2 separate regions of the Homo sapiens genome follow, and region 2 is linked to region 1. Evidence: promoter capture Hi-C in 16 types of primary human blood cells and fetal thymus (Javierre and others, 2016). All regions are on one chromosome and are shown on one strand. Each heading gives the region's core, a stretch centred on a gene start or on the middle of the fragment in contact. The rest is flanking DNA. Distances are from core to core; before and after follow the strand shown.

Evidence for each region. Contacts are between HindIII fragments. The CHiCAGO score rates a contact against its expected background, and 5 or more counts as called.
Region 2: a fragment that was not itself captured here is called in contact with the fragment with the promoter of CEBPB in region 1 in 15 of 17 cell types (monocytes, neutrophils, naive CD4 T cells and 12 more); the score reaches 18.0 in monocytes.

The regions. Positions count from the first base shown.
Region 1 is chr20:50,186,949-50,194,640 of GRCh38, forward strand. It overlaps CEBPB (CCAAT enhancer binding protein beta), which reads left to right and starts at 3,882. Exons shown (of 1, transcript NM_005194.4): 1 at 3,882-5,720. The coding sequence starts at 4,086. The coding sequence ends at 5,123. It overlaps CEBPB-AS1 (CEBPB antisense RNA 1), which reads right to left and starts at 5,121. Exons shown (of 7, transcript NR_125739.1): 1 at 4,716-5,121; 2 at 4,320-4,474; 3 at 3,050-3,337; 4 at 2,508-2,613; 5 at 1,595-1,679; 6 at 65-179. RefSeq lists silencers at 3,415-3,824, 3,784-4,078, 3,905-4,114, 4,255-4,694, 5,115-5,224 and an enhancer at 6,589-7,150. The HindIII fragment of the contact is 16,423 bases long and covers 1-7,692 here.
Region 2 is chr20:50,444,970-50,452,661 of GRCh38, forward strand. No RefSeq gene overlaps it. Among named protein-coding and RNA genes, the nearest start is that of PTPN1, 62 kb to the right of the region's middle. RefSeq lists an enhancer at 3,555-4,520. The HindIII fragment of the contact is 3,682 bases long and covers 1,214-4,895 here.

The DNA.
Region 1 (7,692 bases), core at 2,632-5,131:
CGCCCACTAGAGACACCCCCCCATTCATGTTCTGATGGTTCACCTCTCCGCCATATTTTCCCACCTGCTGGCTGATTTCTAAGCCCTTTTGCAGAACACTCTCTGTCAAAGCAGCCACGTGGATCTCCCCTTGGCAAATCGCCTCAGTTTTCTCCTCTTGAAAATGGGATAGGGAAAAGCTGCAGAGATGGGGAGGAGGAATTGTGAAAAGCAGTTTGGGGGCAGAGGAGGACGTGTGTCCCAGGTAGGAAAGTGCCTGTTCCCTCCCCGCCCCCGCCTGGCTCCTGCCCACCACCATGTGGCCACGTGGGCCCAGCCCACAGCTTCAGGTTTTAAAAGAGGAGCTGGAAATTTGAATTTTGATGTGAAATCTCCTGATTTTTAAATGTTGGCAATAAATTCACTTAAACACACACACATCAAGCAAAACGCTATGGGGTCAAATTGAACACATCTGTGGTCTCGATTTGGCCACTGGCTGCCAGTTTGAGATCCTTTCCGGCTCTAGGTTCTGAGGGCAGGTGACTGGGAGAGGTGGCGCCAGGGGGATCCTGGTTTCCTGTGCCCACACAGCCACTCACGTACTCTGGGCCTCTGGGCCGTGGTGGTTCAAGCTCCCACCATCCCCACTTCTTGGGGAAAGGCTGAACAGTACTGGGGTGGGGGTGGGGGAGCAGCAGGCGGGGCCTGTTGAGCAAGAGCCTTGTAAAAACAAGGGCTTACGTCATCCTAGCTTGCAGCTTCCCTGCAGGACACCTGGGTCGGCACCGGGGTGGGACCTGCGCTGAGAAGGGATGGGTCATCCCCAGCAGGGGGTGGAGGGTGGGGAAGGGTGGCAAGCATGTTCCACCCCAGAGGCCAGAGGGCCTAGACCCCTGCTGGGGCTGAGTCTGGTCTTTGGGGGCTGGCCTGCAAGGTCCGAGTAACACCTTAACGCACTGTGTGACCCCAGGTCTACCCTTCTCTGTGCCTCAGTTCTTCTATCCAGAAGATGGGACTCACATTGCCAGGCCTGTTATGACAAACCCAAGAGGGAAAGTCAGACTGGAAAGATTTTATTCCTTCTCATCCTTTCATGTGACCTGGAGCAGACACACTTAGCTCTTCTGGGCCTCAGTTTCCTCATCTATAAAGTGGAGATAATGATAAGACTGTGGCCTGGCGCAGCGGCTCACACCTGTAATCTCAGCACTTTGGGAGGCTGAGGCAAGAGGGCCACTTGAGGCCAGGCGTTCGAGAAAAGCCTGAGCAACAGAGTGAGACATATCCATCTCTACAAAACATTGAAAAATATGAAAAAAGAAGAAGAAAAAAGACCTGCCTCCTACAAATTATCAGTAGGATTAAATGAGTTAATACATGCAAAGAGCTTGGAATGTGGTTCAGAGAAGGTGGAAGTTTGGCCTAAGAACACACAGCAAATCCTCCAATTAGCTTCAGTTCCCCCATATCTCCCTGCATCTCTTCAGAATCCAGAAAGGGAACGTGGGCGAGTGCTTTGGTTCAGAGAGGGGAGCCATTTTGCCTAAGGTCACACAGCCCAGCTAACGAGGAACCTCTCCTTCTTCTCAGCCTCCTCCATTTATTCACTCACCATTCATCGAGCACCTTCTATGTACCAGGCTCTGTTCTAGGCACCAGGGACACAGTAGTGAAGGCCGTGGGGACAGACAGCAAGACTGGCAGGCAAGATAATTCTGATTATAATGAGAATGGTGACGGAAATGAAGCAGGGGTGTGAGAGGAGTGACTGAGGGCCTAGACTTCCCATGGGAAGGTCAGGGAGGGTTTCCCGGAGGAGGCAGCTTTTGGGCTGAGACCTGAGGAGCTGCCTTGGGCAGAGGTGGGGTGACAGTGTTCTTGGTGCACAGGGAACAGCAAATGCATTCCTTCACTGGTAAATGTTGAGCGTGCTGTGCTCAGGAGTCCCTCGTGGGCCAGCCCTCCCCAAGTGGCAGCCTGCAGGGAGACTGAGGTAGACAGCTAGGATAATGGTGGCTGGCGATAGGGAAGGAAATTCACTAGCAGGTGGGACAGGGAGGGCCTCTCAGAAGCCGTGGCCTCTAGCTCAGCCCTGAGTGTCCCATTTTGCAGTGAGGAAGGGCTGGCCGGGTGGCCCTAGGGAAGCTGCCGCACCCCTCTGGGCCTTGATCCCTCCCCAACCCAGAGGCTGCTGGGAAGACCCAGAAAGCCAGCAGGCTGGGCCAGTGTTTTATCCCCTCCCTCCCTGCCTCCTACCCACCAAGGGTGCCCAGAGATGTCATTTCTCCAGCTCTTGGGGGCGGAGGTCACCCCAGCTCAGCAGATAACACCAAAGGTTGAGCAATGCCCGCCTGCCCGCTGGGGCCAGGGCTGGGGTCAGTGGGCTGGGGATCAGCCCCGGGCAGGCTGGGAGCTCCTGCCTAGGTGGCCTGGGCTAGGAGTGGCAGAGAGGTGGGCCCAGGGAGCTGCCCCAATGGCCTAGGAATGGGTCCGGGAGGGCAAAGGGCCCTCTAACCTGAGCCTACCCAGCAGAGGCGGGCAAGTGGTCAGAAGGCCTTGGGCCTGTGTTCAAGTCCAGGCGGGCCGTTGTCGCTTTCCCGTCTGTGAAATGGCAGCAGCAAAAGCATCTTCCTGGTGGGGTGAAAAAAGTTGAACCTCGGGGTGCAGGCCCACCGTAAGCACAGGGCAGGGACTTGGTAAAAACTTATCTTTCTCTTTCCTTCTCTTTCCTGCATACCACCCCCTCCCGTGAGGCCTCGCTTAAGTCCCTCCCTAGCAACTTCAGAAACAGAAGTTTTTGGCCTCTGGGACTGGCAATAGGTCTTAGGGCTCAGATGAGGGCATTTCATTTGGGATGAATGGGGGACATGCGGCCATGTGACCTTGGTATGCCACGCCATGCTCTCTCTGGGCCTCCACTGGCACAATCCGTGGGGGTCCCGTTCTCTCTGATGTGCAGCCCACAACGTAAGCCTTAGGTTTGGGAGTCTGGTGGGAACAATGCCACCACCACTGACAGTAGCGACACCCTTCATGGATTGCAGCTGGGAGAAGTGAAGTGACTCACCCAAGGTCACACAGTGTGGCAGGGCCGAGCACCCCCCGCCCCTGCCCCATCCCAGGGCCCAGGTCGGGTGGCGCAGCGCGGGGCAAGAGAAGACCCGGGCGTGTCCAAGCCTCGAGCAGGCGGCAGGTGTGGTGGGCGGGGCTAGGGGCGGGGCTCCGTGGACCAGGGTCCAGCCCCAAGCGGGGCGCGATCCTGCCCGGTCGCGCCGACCCCCGGGGTCCTCATATTGTCTGTGGCTTAAGAGGGGAGTCGTCACAGGCGTCAAGTCTTCTTTCTAAAGCCGGGGACCTGGGGAGGAGGTGGGAGTTTACGGGAGGAAGGGCCACGGAGATGGGTCGCTTCTCCTGGAGCTAGAGCTGCGGGCTGGGGTCTCCAGGGTTCGGCCCGGGGAGCCGACCCTGGTCGGCCGTCGGGGCTCTGCTCGGCCCTCCTGAAACCTCCGCCTCCTCCAGCAGGGGGCGGGCCGGGGCCGCGTCTCGGGGGGAAGGCGATCAGGTCGCCCCCTCCTCCGATTCCCCCGCCTTCCAGGACAGCCTCCAGCCCAGAGGGGCGGTCCGGGGGCGGGGTCGCACCGCCCCCTCTCGCTCCCAATCCCGGGGCGGCCGGGCGGGGGTGGGCAGGGGGCGTGAGGCCGCCCCTGCGTCCCGGGGGCCCCCCGAAAACGCGCTCCGGGTGCCCGGTCCCTCCGCTGCGCCCTGCCGCCGTCCTCCCGGGGGTCTCGGGCGGCCGCGGCCGTGTCCTTCGCGTCCCGGCGGCGCGGCGGGAGGGGCCGGCGTGACGCAGCGGTTGCTACGGGCCGCCCTTATAAATAACCGGGCTCAGGAGAAACTTTAGCGAGTCAGAGCCGCGCACGGGACTGGGAAGGGGACCCACCCGAGGGTCCAGCCACCAGCCCCCTCACTAATAGCGGCCACCCCGGCAGCGGCGGCAGCAGCAGCAGCGACGCAGCGGCGACAGCTCAGAGCAGGGAGGCCGCGCCACCTGCGGGCCGGCCGGAGCGGGCAGCCCCAGGCCCCCTCCCCGGGCACCCGCGTTCATGCAACGCCTGGTGGCCTGGGACCCAGCATGTCTCCCCCTGCCGCCGCCGCCGCCTGCCTTTAAATCCATGGAAGTGGCCAACTTCTACTACGAGGCGGACTGCTTGGCTGCTGCGTACGGCGGCAAGGCGGCCCCCGCGGCGCCCCCCGCGGCCAGACCCGGGCCGCGCCCCCCCGCCGGCGAGCTGGGCAGCATCGGCGACCACGAGCGCGCCATCGACTTCAGCCCGTACCTGGAGCCGCTGGGCGCGCCGCAGGCCCCGGCGCCCGCCACGGCCACGGACACCTTCGAGGCGGCTCCGCCCGCGCCCGCCCCCGCGCCCGCCTCCTCCGGGCAGCACCACGACTTCCTCTCCGACCTCTTCTCCGACGACTACGGGGGCAAGAACTGCAAGAAGCCGGCCGAGTACGGCTACGTGAGCCTGGGGCGCCTGGGGGCCGCCAAGGGCGCGCTGCACCCCGGCTGCTTCGCGCCCCTGCACCCACCGCCCCCGCCGCCGCCGCCGCCCGCCGAGCTCAAGGCGGAGCCGGGCTTCGAGCCCGCGGACTGCAAGCGGAAGGAGGAGGCCGGGGCGCCGGGCGGCGGCGCAGGCATGGCGGCGGGCTTCCCGTACGCGCTGCGCGCTTACCTCGGCTACCAGGCGGTGCCGAGCGGCAGCAGCGGGAGCCTCTCCACGTCCTCCTCGTCCAGCCCGCCCGGCACGCCGAGCCCCGCTGACGCCAAGGCGCCCCCGACCGCCTGCTACGCGGGGGCCGCGCCGGCGCCCTCGCAGGTCAAGAGCAAGGCCAAGAAGACCGTGGACAAGCACAGCGACGAGTACAAGATCCGGCGCGAGCGCAACAACATCGCCGTGCGCAAGAGCCGCGACAAGGCCAAGATGCGCAACCTGGAGACGCAGCACAAGGTCCTGGAGCTCACGGCCGAGAACGAGCGGCTGCAGAAGAAGGTGGAGCAGCTGTCGCGCGAGCTCAGCACCCTGCGGAACTTGTTCAAGCAGCTGCCCGAGCCCCTGCTCGCCTCCTCCGGCCACTGCTAGCGCGGCCCCCGCGCGCGTCCCCCTGCCGGCCGGGGCTGAGACTCCGGGGAGCGCCCGCGCCCGCGCCCTCGCCCCCGCCCCCGGCGGCGCCGGCAAAACTTTGGCACTGGGGCACTTGGCAGCGCGGGGAGCCCGTCGGTAATTTTAATATTTTATTATATATATATATCTATATTTTTGTCCAAACCAACCGCACATGCAGATGGGGCTCCCGCCCGTGGTGTTATTTAAAGAAGAAACGTCTATGTGTACAGATGAATGATAAACTCTCTGCTTCTCCCTCTGCCCCTCTCCAGGCGCCGGCGGGCGGGCCGGTTTCGAAGTTGATGCAATCGGTTTAAACATGGCTGAACGCGTGTGTACACGGGACTGACGCAACCCACGTGTAACTGTCAGCCGGGCCCTGAGTAATCGCTTAAAGATGTTCCTACGGGCTTGTTGCTGTTGATGTTTTGTTTTGTTTTGTTTTTTGGTCTTTTTTTGTATTATAAAAAATAATCTATTTCTATGAGAAAAGAGGCGTCTGTATATTTTGGGAATCTTTTCCGTTTCAAGCATTAAGAACACTTTTAATAAACTTTTTTTTGAGAATGGTTACAAAGCCTTTTGGGGGCAGTAATTGGCTTTTGTTTTTTATTTTTTTACTTTATTTTGGATTTGTAGGATTTTGTTTTTGCGTTTCTGGTGTGTAGGGGGTTGTGTGTGGGGGGCTGCTGTTATTTTTGGAGGTTTTGGTGGTTGGGTGGGGGTGTTGCAGCTGGTTTTTCTGCCTCCTCTGCTACTCCCCCTCCCACACACACAGGGTCTGCTTGAGATGGGGTTCCAGCCCCGGGGGAAAGGGGAGAAGAGTAATGGGTCAGGCATTCAGGCTGACTCAGAGCCCCTAGGCGCCGGGACGGGTGGCTGGGAACCCTGCTTGAGAAGAGATTCCGGAGCCTCTGGCTGGTCCCGAGTGTCAGGCTTGGGTTTGGAAGGGCTGGGAGGTCTGTGACCCCTGCCCTGTGTTTGGGGACTAGGTAGGCAGGCCTGTGACTGTAGGAGGAGGGGGTTCAGGTCTTGGTCCTGCTGAGCCCGAGTCAGGGCAGATGCTTTTGGTCAGTGTAGTGGGGTGGGTTGTTTAAAACACAGTTTGTGTATACATGTGTATTTTAAAGAGGGGAGCCTGGGTGTGTGGGCGAGTCTGTGTTTGTGTGTCCCTGGCCAGCAGGAGGGGAGAGGCCAGGCCAGGTGGAGAGAGGTGGGGGAGGGGTTCCCACACTTTGATTACCTTTCCTGAGGATGGGAGGCTCATCACTTGCTCTCTTTGCCCAGACTTGGACACTGAGCCCACCTCACCTGCCTGCTCAAGGTGGCTGAGCCCAGGCACAAACGTGGGGCTGCTAGCCCTGATTCCCTGGGACAGGCTCCTCTTCCCTGCCCACTGATCCCTTTGCCCCTTCCGGCTTCTCACCGCACCCCCTACTCCCATCCAGCCCTGGATGGCATTCCTGAGAGTTGAGGATGTAGATGGATGTGAGTGGATACATGTACAGCGTCCCACAGTGCCTGGCACGCAAGAAGTGTTATATAAGCGCTTGCTCTTGTTATTATTTTTTGCTGGGAAGCTGCTGGCATTTGGCACCCCAGTCTCCAGTGCAGCGCCAGTGTGGCCAGTACTTGCCAGGGGCCGGCATCTGGTAAACACTGGACCTGCCCCATCCCATTTAGACCTCACAATAACCTTTGGGAAGGTGGGGATTGTTATGACGCCTGTTTTTAGAGGTGGGGAGCAGCTTTGGGCTGTCCGATCCCTATGGGCAAGACACTGGTTGGGGGTTGCCCTGCCCTGAGGAATTCAGGGGCAGCAGGCATCGTAGCCTGGTTTGCCAAGGACCTGGGGCGGTCTGGGATCTCAGGAGCAGTTGCTGATACCGTGGTTCGCGAATGGGAAATGCTTTGCCCCTCCTTTTCCTTTTGGGGGCCTGGTTGTGCTTTCCCTGTGGGAGCCTGGGATGTGGGGAACAGACAGCGACACTCATCCCCCACCGCCACAAAGCGGAGGATTCCTATAAGCTCCACCTCCCTAATGCCAGTGTCTCCTGATGGTGGCTCGAGGGCTATGCAGATTGCTGGACACAGATAACCTCACTTCAACCTGGGACCTGCAGCGTGGCCCTGACCACGTCCCCTCCCAGCCCTGGGCAACTGGACAACTGGCCGGGCATGCCTTCAAAGCCTCGAAGTCAGTTCAGTCCCAAGCCCCACTGGTCTCGATGGTTTCTGTCAGTAGCAGCGACAGCAATGTGGGCTTGACCTCAAGGATTTACTTGCTGAAGGCAGAGGCTGAGGGGCTGGACCTAGGGAAGGAGGGAGGTGGAGAGGGTCGAAATTGAGGAACAAATCTCAAATCCCTGCTCCCTCCTTTGTCACCAAGAGTTGGCTGGTGGCCACTGCTCACCCAAATGAGGTGAGAGGGAAGCAGCCTGGCCAGACGGTGCCCCTCTTCCGCCCCCGTCTGCCCCACAGCTTCGCTTCTGTTTCCCCAGTGCTGTCCTGGAACCAGCGTTGAGTCAGTTCTTCACACACTCAC
Region 2 (7,692 bases), core at 1,805-4,304, 260 kb after region 1:
GTGAAACCCCATCTCTACCAAAAATATAAAAAATTAGTCAGTGTGGTGGCACACGCCTGTAATCCCAGCTATTCAGGAGGCTCAGGCAGGAGAATCACTTGAACCTGGGAGGCAGAGGTTGCAGTGAGCCGAGAGCTTGCCACTGCACTCCAGCCTGGGTGACCGAGTAAGACTGTCTCAAAAAAAAAAAAAAAAATATATATATATATATATTCAAAGAAGAAATGTGTCTGTACTAAGCATGTACAGACTTTTTCTTGTCATTATTCACTAAACAATACATTAAAACCACTATTTACATTGGATTTACATTGCATTACATATTATAAATAATCTAGAGATGATTTGAAGTGTACAGGGGGATGTGCCTAAGTTATATACAAATGTTACTTTATTTTACATAAGGGACTCAAGCATCTAAAGATTGTGATATCTGTGGAAGGTCCTAGAATCAATCCCCAAGGATACCAGGGACAACTGGAGAGAGAAGCGGGGAGAGAGAGACAGATATTTGTTTATATCTCTAAAAGGACACACTAACAACTGGCAACAAGAGGTGCTTCTGAAGAGGGGAACTGGGAAATGTCAGAGGAAATGAGAAGGAAGATATTTTGCACGACATGGCCTTTTACACTGCTTGAGTTTTTCTCCACATGCTTGTGTTACTTTTACAAAGCAGAAAACATTTGCCAAAGGATTACTATGCCACAGACAATAAAAATGAGACGCTATAAACAAATATACACAGTCATGCATCACATAATGACATTGGTCAATGATGGACCACATATACGACCGTGGTCCTGTAAGACTGTAAGGCGGTATTTGTACTGTATGCTCTCTACGTTTAGGTATGTTTAGAGACAGATACTTCCCATTGTGTTACCATTGCCTACAGCAGGGGTCCCCAACCCTCCAAGGTACCAGTCCGTGGCCTATTAGGAACTGGGCTGCACGGCAGGAGGTGAGTGACAGGTGAGTGAGCAAAGCTTCATCTGTATTGACAGCCACTTCCCATCACTCGCATTACCACCTGAGCTCCACCTCCTGTCAGACTGGTGGTGCCATTAGATTCTCATAGGAGCTCGAACCCTATTGTGAACTGCCCATGTGAGGGATCTTGATTGTGTGCTTCTTATGAGAATCTAACGCCTGATGATCTGTCGCTGTCTCCCATCACCCTCAGATGGGATCGTCTAGTTGCAGGAAAACAAGCTTAGGGCTCTCACTGATTCTACGTGAAGGTGAGTTGTATAATTATTTCGTTATATATTACACTGTAATAATTGTAGAAATAAAGCACACAATAAATGTAATGCACCTGAATCGTCCCGGAACCATCCCCCTCACACTGGTTTTTGGAAAAAAATTTCTTCCACGAAACCGGTCCCTGGTGCCAAAAAGGTTGGGGACCGCTGGCCTACAGTTTTCAGTACAGTCACGTGCTGTACAGGTTTGCAGCCCGGGAGCCACAGGCTCCACCGTGTAGCCTGGGTGTGTAGTAGGCTATGCCATCTAGGCTTGTGTGAGTACACTCCGATGTTCTCGTCATGACGAAATCACCTAACAACACACTTCTCAAAACATAGCCCTGTCATTAAGGGACGCGTGACTTCACAGGCAATCACAGCACAACTTCAGCGGGTGCCGTTCATTGGGCCATTTGTAGAATGGAGCCATTGGAGTTGTGAGGGCACACCCCATGTGGCAGCCCTGTTGGTAACAAAACTAACACCAAGAGTTTCTATGAAGTGAAATTTGTGAGTAAATATTAAAGAAGTAGGGTCGGAGTGGAAGTTGTGGGAGGGGAATAAAATCTCACTCTTTCCGTTTTATGCTATTCCTTATCAGGACCACAATAAAGCCAATCTTCTGCCAATATTTACTTTTGATTTTTTTCTCCAGAGTGGAAGAAAAATGCCCAGGCCTGGCAGGAATAGGAGAGTAGGATTGAAAGTTGAAACAAGAGCAGGAAGCTCACCCGGAAATAAAATCATTTCCAGAACCTCACAATGAAAATGACACTTATTTCACAGAAACACTCAAAGGCTGACTCCACTTACGAGACTCCTCTCTTGTAACCCCAGTCAGCTTTCCCAGATATCTTGGGATTCCATGAAACCCACTGCAAGCATTTTGACCCAGGTTGGAGGCCTCAAACAGCAGTCTCCCACCTAAGAACATGGAAGATGTGGATTTTTGGTCAGCAGTGGTTTCAAAATCAAGACATTTCATGTAAATGCAGGAGTTTCTGGCTTCCCTTGAAACTCTTGGCTCTCTGGCCGCCCTGAGCCCACATTCCCACGTGGAAACTTCAGGCTGCCGTCAAACGGTAGTTGCTCCTTCCAGATGGGGCAAGGGCTCCCCGTTTGCCACAGTCCCCACCACTCCCTGTCGCCCTCCATCAGGACCACTTCACTCAATTCTTTTTTTCATTTGTACTTCATTCACTCAACCAAGATTTATTGAGCACTTACTATGTGCCAGAAAGCTGCAAACAAAACTGACACAAATTCCTCCTTCATGCAACTTATATTCTGGCTGGTGAGGCAATGAAGAAAAAGAAGGAAAAGCATAAATTCCAGAGGGTGGTAAGTTCTGCTGACAGTGAAAATAGTGCTGCAAAGGTGGAGAAGGCATGCTGGGTGTGGTCAAGGAAGGCCTTAGGAGGAAGGTACATTTGAGCAAAGATCTGAAGCTGGTAAGGACAGCAAGCCTTCAGGATATCTGTGGAAAGAACAGTCCAGCCAGCAAGAACAGCAAGTGCAAAGGTCCTGGGGCAGGACTGCTCCTTGTGTGTCTGTGAAGCAGCAAGAAGGCCAGTGCAGCTGGAGAAGAGTGAGTGAGGGGAAGGGGGTGGAAATGAGGTCAGAGAGGGGATGAGGTATCAATCTTGCAGGGCCTCATAGGATCTTTGGCTTTTACTCTAAGTGAGGTGGGAGCCGTGGAGGATTCTGAGCAGAGGCAATGTGGTTGTATGGGTGATAGACTCCCTCTAGCTACATGTGGAGACTGGACTGTGTGTGCGAAGCGGGTGGGGTGGGATGGAGGAGAAAGGTGGAAGCTAAGAGGCCAGCAAGGACCCACTGCAGTGGTCCGGGTGCAGGGTGGCAGTGGCAGGACAGGGCGGTGGCTATGGAGGTGGTGACAAGAGGTTGGAGTCTGGACATACTGTGTTTCCCGGCTCTTTTTTTTTTTTTTTTTTTTTGAGACAGAGTTTCGATCTTGTTGCCCAGGCTGGAGTGCAATGGCACGATCTCGGCTCACCAAAACCTCCCTCTCCCAGGTTCAAGTGATTCTCCTGCCTCAGCCTCCTGAGTAGCTGGGATTACAGGCATGCGCCACCATGCCTGGCTAATTTTTGTAGTTTTAGTAGAGATGGAGTTTCTCCATGTTGGTCAGGCTGGTCTCGAACCCCTGACCTCAAGTGATCCTCCCGCCTTGACCTCCCAAAGTGCTGGGATTACAGGCATGAGCCACCGTGCCTGGCCTTCTTCTTCTTTTTTTTCTTTTTTGAGACGGAGTCTTACTGTGATGCCCAGGCTGGAGTGCAATGGTGCAATCTTGGCTCACTGCAAACTCCCCTTCCCAAGTTCAAGCGATTTTTCTGCCTCAGCCTCCCAAGAAGCTGGGACTACAGGTGTGCACCACCATACCTGGCTAATTTTTGTATTTTTAATAGAGGCGGGGTTTCACCATATTGGCCAGGCTGATCTCAAACTCCTGACCTCAGGTGATCCTCTGGCCTTGGCCTCCCAAAGTGCTGGGATTACAGGCCTGAGCCAACATGCCTGGCCTGTTTCCCAACTCCTTTTGGCACTTAGGAGAAACTCCCCTCACTCACTCTCCTCCAGCCACATTGTGCTTGCATGATCCAACCTCAGGGCCTTTGCACTTGCTGTTCCCTCTGCCCTGCACACGCCGCCCCCAGATATTCCCAAGGCTTCCTCCCTCCCTTCTCAGGGCTAAAGCTGCTGAAACAGCCCACATTCCTGACATTCTCCTCCCTTGCTCTGCTGGGTTGGTCACTACAGTGAACTTCCTGGCCTCAATATACAGGAGACGTTTTTTCTTGTTGTTGAGTTGTCTATCTCCTGCCGTAGGGCATCAGCTTGAGGAGGGAACCAGTGATGTCTCTTTTTTTTTTTTAAACAGAGTCTCACTCTGTTGCCCAGGCTGGAGTGAAGTGGCACAATCTTGGCTCACTGCAACCTCCACCTCCTGGGTTCAAGTGCTTTAGCCTCCTGAGTAACTGGGATTACAGGTGTAAGCCACCACACCTGGCAATTTTTTTTTTTTTTAGTAGACATGGGGTTTCACCATGTTGGCCCGGCTGGTCTCGAACTCCTGGCCTCAAGCGATCTGCCCACCTAACCCTCCCAAAGTGCTGAGATTACAGGCATGAGCCACCGCGCCTGGCCAGCAATGATTTCTCTCGTTCACTGCTGTATCCCCGAGTCTAACTATGCCTGGAGCAGAGTAGTCCATCAGTGGGACTTGTAGAAAGAATGAGAGAAGGCGTCAGAGATTGATTTTGTTTCTGCCACTCATTAGTGTATGACCTGTGCAAATGGCTCCTCCCTCCATCCCCAGTATCCTCTTCTATAAAATGGGTCTCTCTACATAACCTCTGTAGGGCTGTTGTGAGAATCTGGGAAGCCTACGGCAAAAAGCCTTTAGCACCATTCAGGGATCTTCGAAGCTGTCCGTGTTAGGTGTTGCTATGAACCTTAGGAGGGAATGAGAGGATAGCTGGAAGAGAGTCACCCCCGCAGAGGCCAAGAAGGAAGAGAGAAACACGTTTGTCCTAAGATGGGACAAGGCTGTTTTTTCCAGTATTTTCAGTAAGAAAACGAAAGAGCATCCAAGAATCTCAGGGCACAGTCCAGGCTGCAAGCTTCTTGGCTGTCTGGCCTCTGCCCATCTTTCCTGCTCTCTGCTCCAGCCTATAGCTCCCTTCCCCGCAGCCCTGTGAGCCCCTCAGTGGCCCCAGGATCCTCTGCTCCTCTGCTCCTCTGGGAATCCAGTCCCCTCCGGCTGAATGCCTCACCTTCCCCTGGGGTCTACCACTCAGCCCTCTGCAGCCAGCCCAGCTCCTGTGTGGAATTCCCTGGTGGCTGGTATGAGGGGGTGCCCAGCATCCCCTCCTCATCCTGTGACAGTGGATAAGGGCCAGCTGTTAGCATCATTGTTGTTATTACTATTACACAAACGCTTCCAATGGATCCACACCACCTAAGCAGCGCCAGGAAGCCAGGGAAATGCCAGAAGCAATAACAGTCAGCAACTATGTAGTACCTACTGTGTACTGTGCTGTATTGCACATAGGCACCGTTCCAAGCCCTTCGTGCTATTAACTCATTTGATTGTCACAGTGTATGAGGCAGGTACTATGTTAACTCCATTTTACAGATAATGAAACAGATCTAGAGTGGTTAAGTAACTAACCACTGAGAAAGCTAGATTCAAATTTGTGGGTTGGCTCTAAAACCTGTTGTTTTAATTAACTCTACACACTGCTGCCTTATGGCATTTTATTGTTTGAAATAATAACATTTCCTGAGCACTCACTATGTGCCAGCTACTAGGCTCAGAATTACCTTTCTTCACCCTGAAAGACCCTATGAGTTCATTTGATTATTAAATAGTCCCATTTTACAGAAGAAGAAACTGAGGCATAGAAAGATAGTGCCTCACACAGTGTGGCAAATTGTGTTTTCTGTTTTTTTTTTTTTTTTTTTCTTGCTCTGTTGCCCAGGCTGGAGTCCAGTGGCAAGATCATAGCTCACTGCAGCCTCCTGGGCTCAAGCCATCTTCCTGCCTCGGCCTCCCAAAATGCTGGAATTACAGGGAGTGCACCCAGCTGCGCATCGTGTTGTCTTAAGATGCTTACAGCATCATCTCTCATCCTCATGATCTGTTTCTGCTTCTTTTTTTTTGTAAAAAAAAACCCCCCCAGCTTTATTGAGATATAATTCACATACCATAAAACTCACCCTTTTAAAGTACACAATCCAGTGGGTTTTGGTGTATTCACAGAGTTGTGCAATCATCACCACTACCTAATTTTAGAACACTTGCATTGCCCCCGAAAGGAACCTCACACCCATTAGCAGTCACTCCCCCTTCCCACCATGTTGTGAGGAAACCCAAACCAGCCCAAGTGAAGAGACCACACGAAGAAGTCACACACAGGTGTCTTTCTGATGGCCCAGCTGCGGTAGCAGCTGCCAGACACGCAAGTGAAGACTCTCCGACCGAGGCCAGCACCCCAGCCACCAAGTCGCCCTCAGCCTTCAGGCTGTCCCAGCCGAGGCCCCAGACACTGTGGAGCAGAGACAAGCTGTCCTGCTGTGCCCTGTCTGCATTCCTGACCACAGGATCTGAGAGATATCATTCCAGGCGAGTAGAATGGCTGCTTTACACCGCTGTGTTCTGGGGTGGGTTTGTTATGCAGGAGGAGTAACCGAGCCACAGCTGGTAAGGGGCAATGCTCGGGTTTGAACCCGAGTCCTTCTGGCTTTGAGGCTGCCCCTTAAACCACATATAGGCTGGATGATCCCCTGGATGTGGAGGAGTCGGCACTCCCTTTCTTGTGCAATCGACTCAGTGCATCGGGGTGACGTGCCCTTTCTCTAGCTGACCTTCTGGAAGCACATAAACGGAGACAGAAATGCTTTCTTTTTGTTTTGCCAGTTTATTGCTGCTGCTGCTGCTGCAGTTCTTATTTAGTATATATGAATTCTTGTTCTTATTTTTTGCTAGTTAGAGTAAGGCTGGGCGTGGTGACCCTCAGCTGTAATCCCAGCACCTTGGGAGGCCAAGGTGGGCAGATCATTTGAATCCCAGAGTTTGAAACCAGCCTGAGCATCGTGGTGAAACCCCATCTCTACAAAACAAATACAAAAATTAGCCGGGCACGGTGGCATGTGCCTGTAGTCCTAGCTACTTGGGAGGCTGAGGTGAGAGGATGGCTTGAGTCTGGGAGGCGGAGGTTGCAGTGAGCCAAGATTGCGGCATTACACTCCAGTCTGGCCGACAGAGTGAGAGCCTATCTCTCAAAGAAAGAAAGAGAAAGAAAGAAAGAAAGAAAGAAAAAGAAAGAAGGAAGGAAGGAAGGAAGGAAGGAAGGAAGGAAGGAAGGAAAGGAAGGAAGGAAGGAAGGAAGGAAGGAAGGAAGGAAGGAAGGAAGAAAGGTTAGAATAAATAGATAAGAAACACAAAAAATCCACCTGCCATCCCCACTACGCAGGAAAAACCTCCACATAACACTTGAATCTTGTAGAATTGTATCTACCAGGCATTTAACTCACGCAATTTCACTGGGCATCAGTGGGCCAAAAAGGGTGATGGGGAGAGTGACAATCTTTATTTTTTCGTTTCTTTTCTTTTTCTTTTTTTTTTTTTTTGAGAGAGTCTTGCTCTGTTGGCCAGGCTGCAGTGCAGTGGTGCAATCTTGGTTTACTGAAACCTCTGCCTCCCGAGTTTGAGTGATTCTCCTGCCTCAGCCTCCAGAGTAGCTGGGATTACAAGTGAGCACCATCACGCCTGGCTAATTTTTGTATTTTTAGTAGAGATGGGGTTTCACCATGTTGGCCAGGCAGATCTCAAACTCCTGGCCTCAAGTTACCTGCCCGCCTCAGCCTCCCAAAGTGCTGGGATTTACAGGCGTGAGCCACCAAGCCCGGCTGA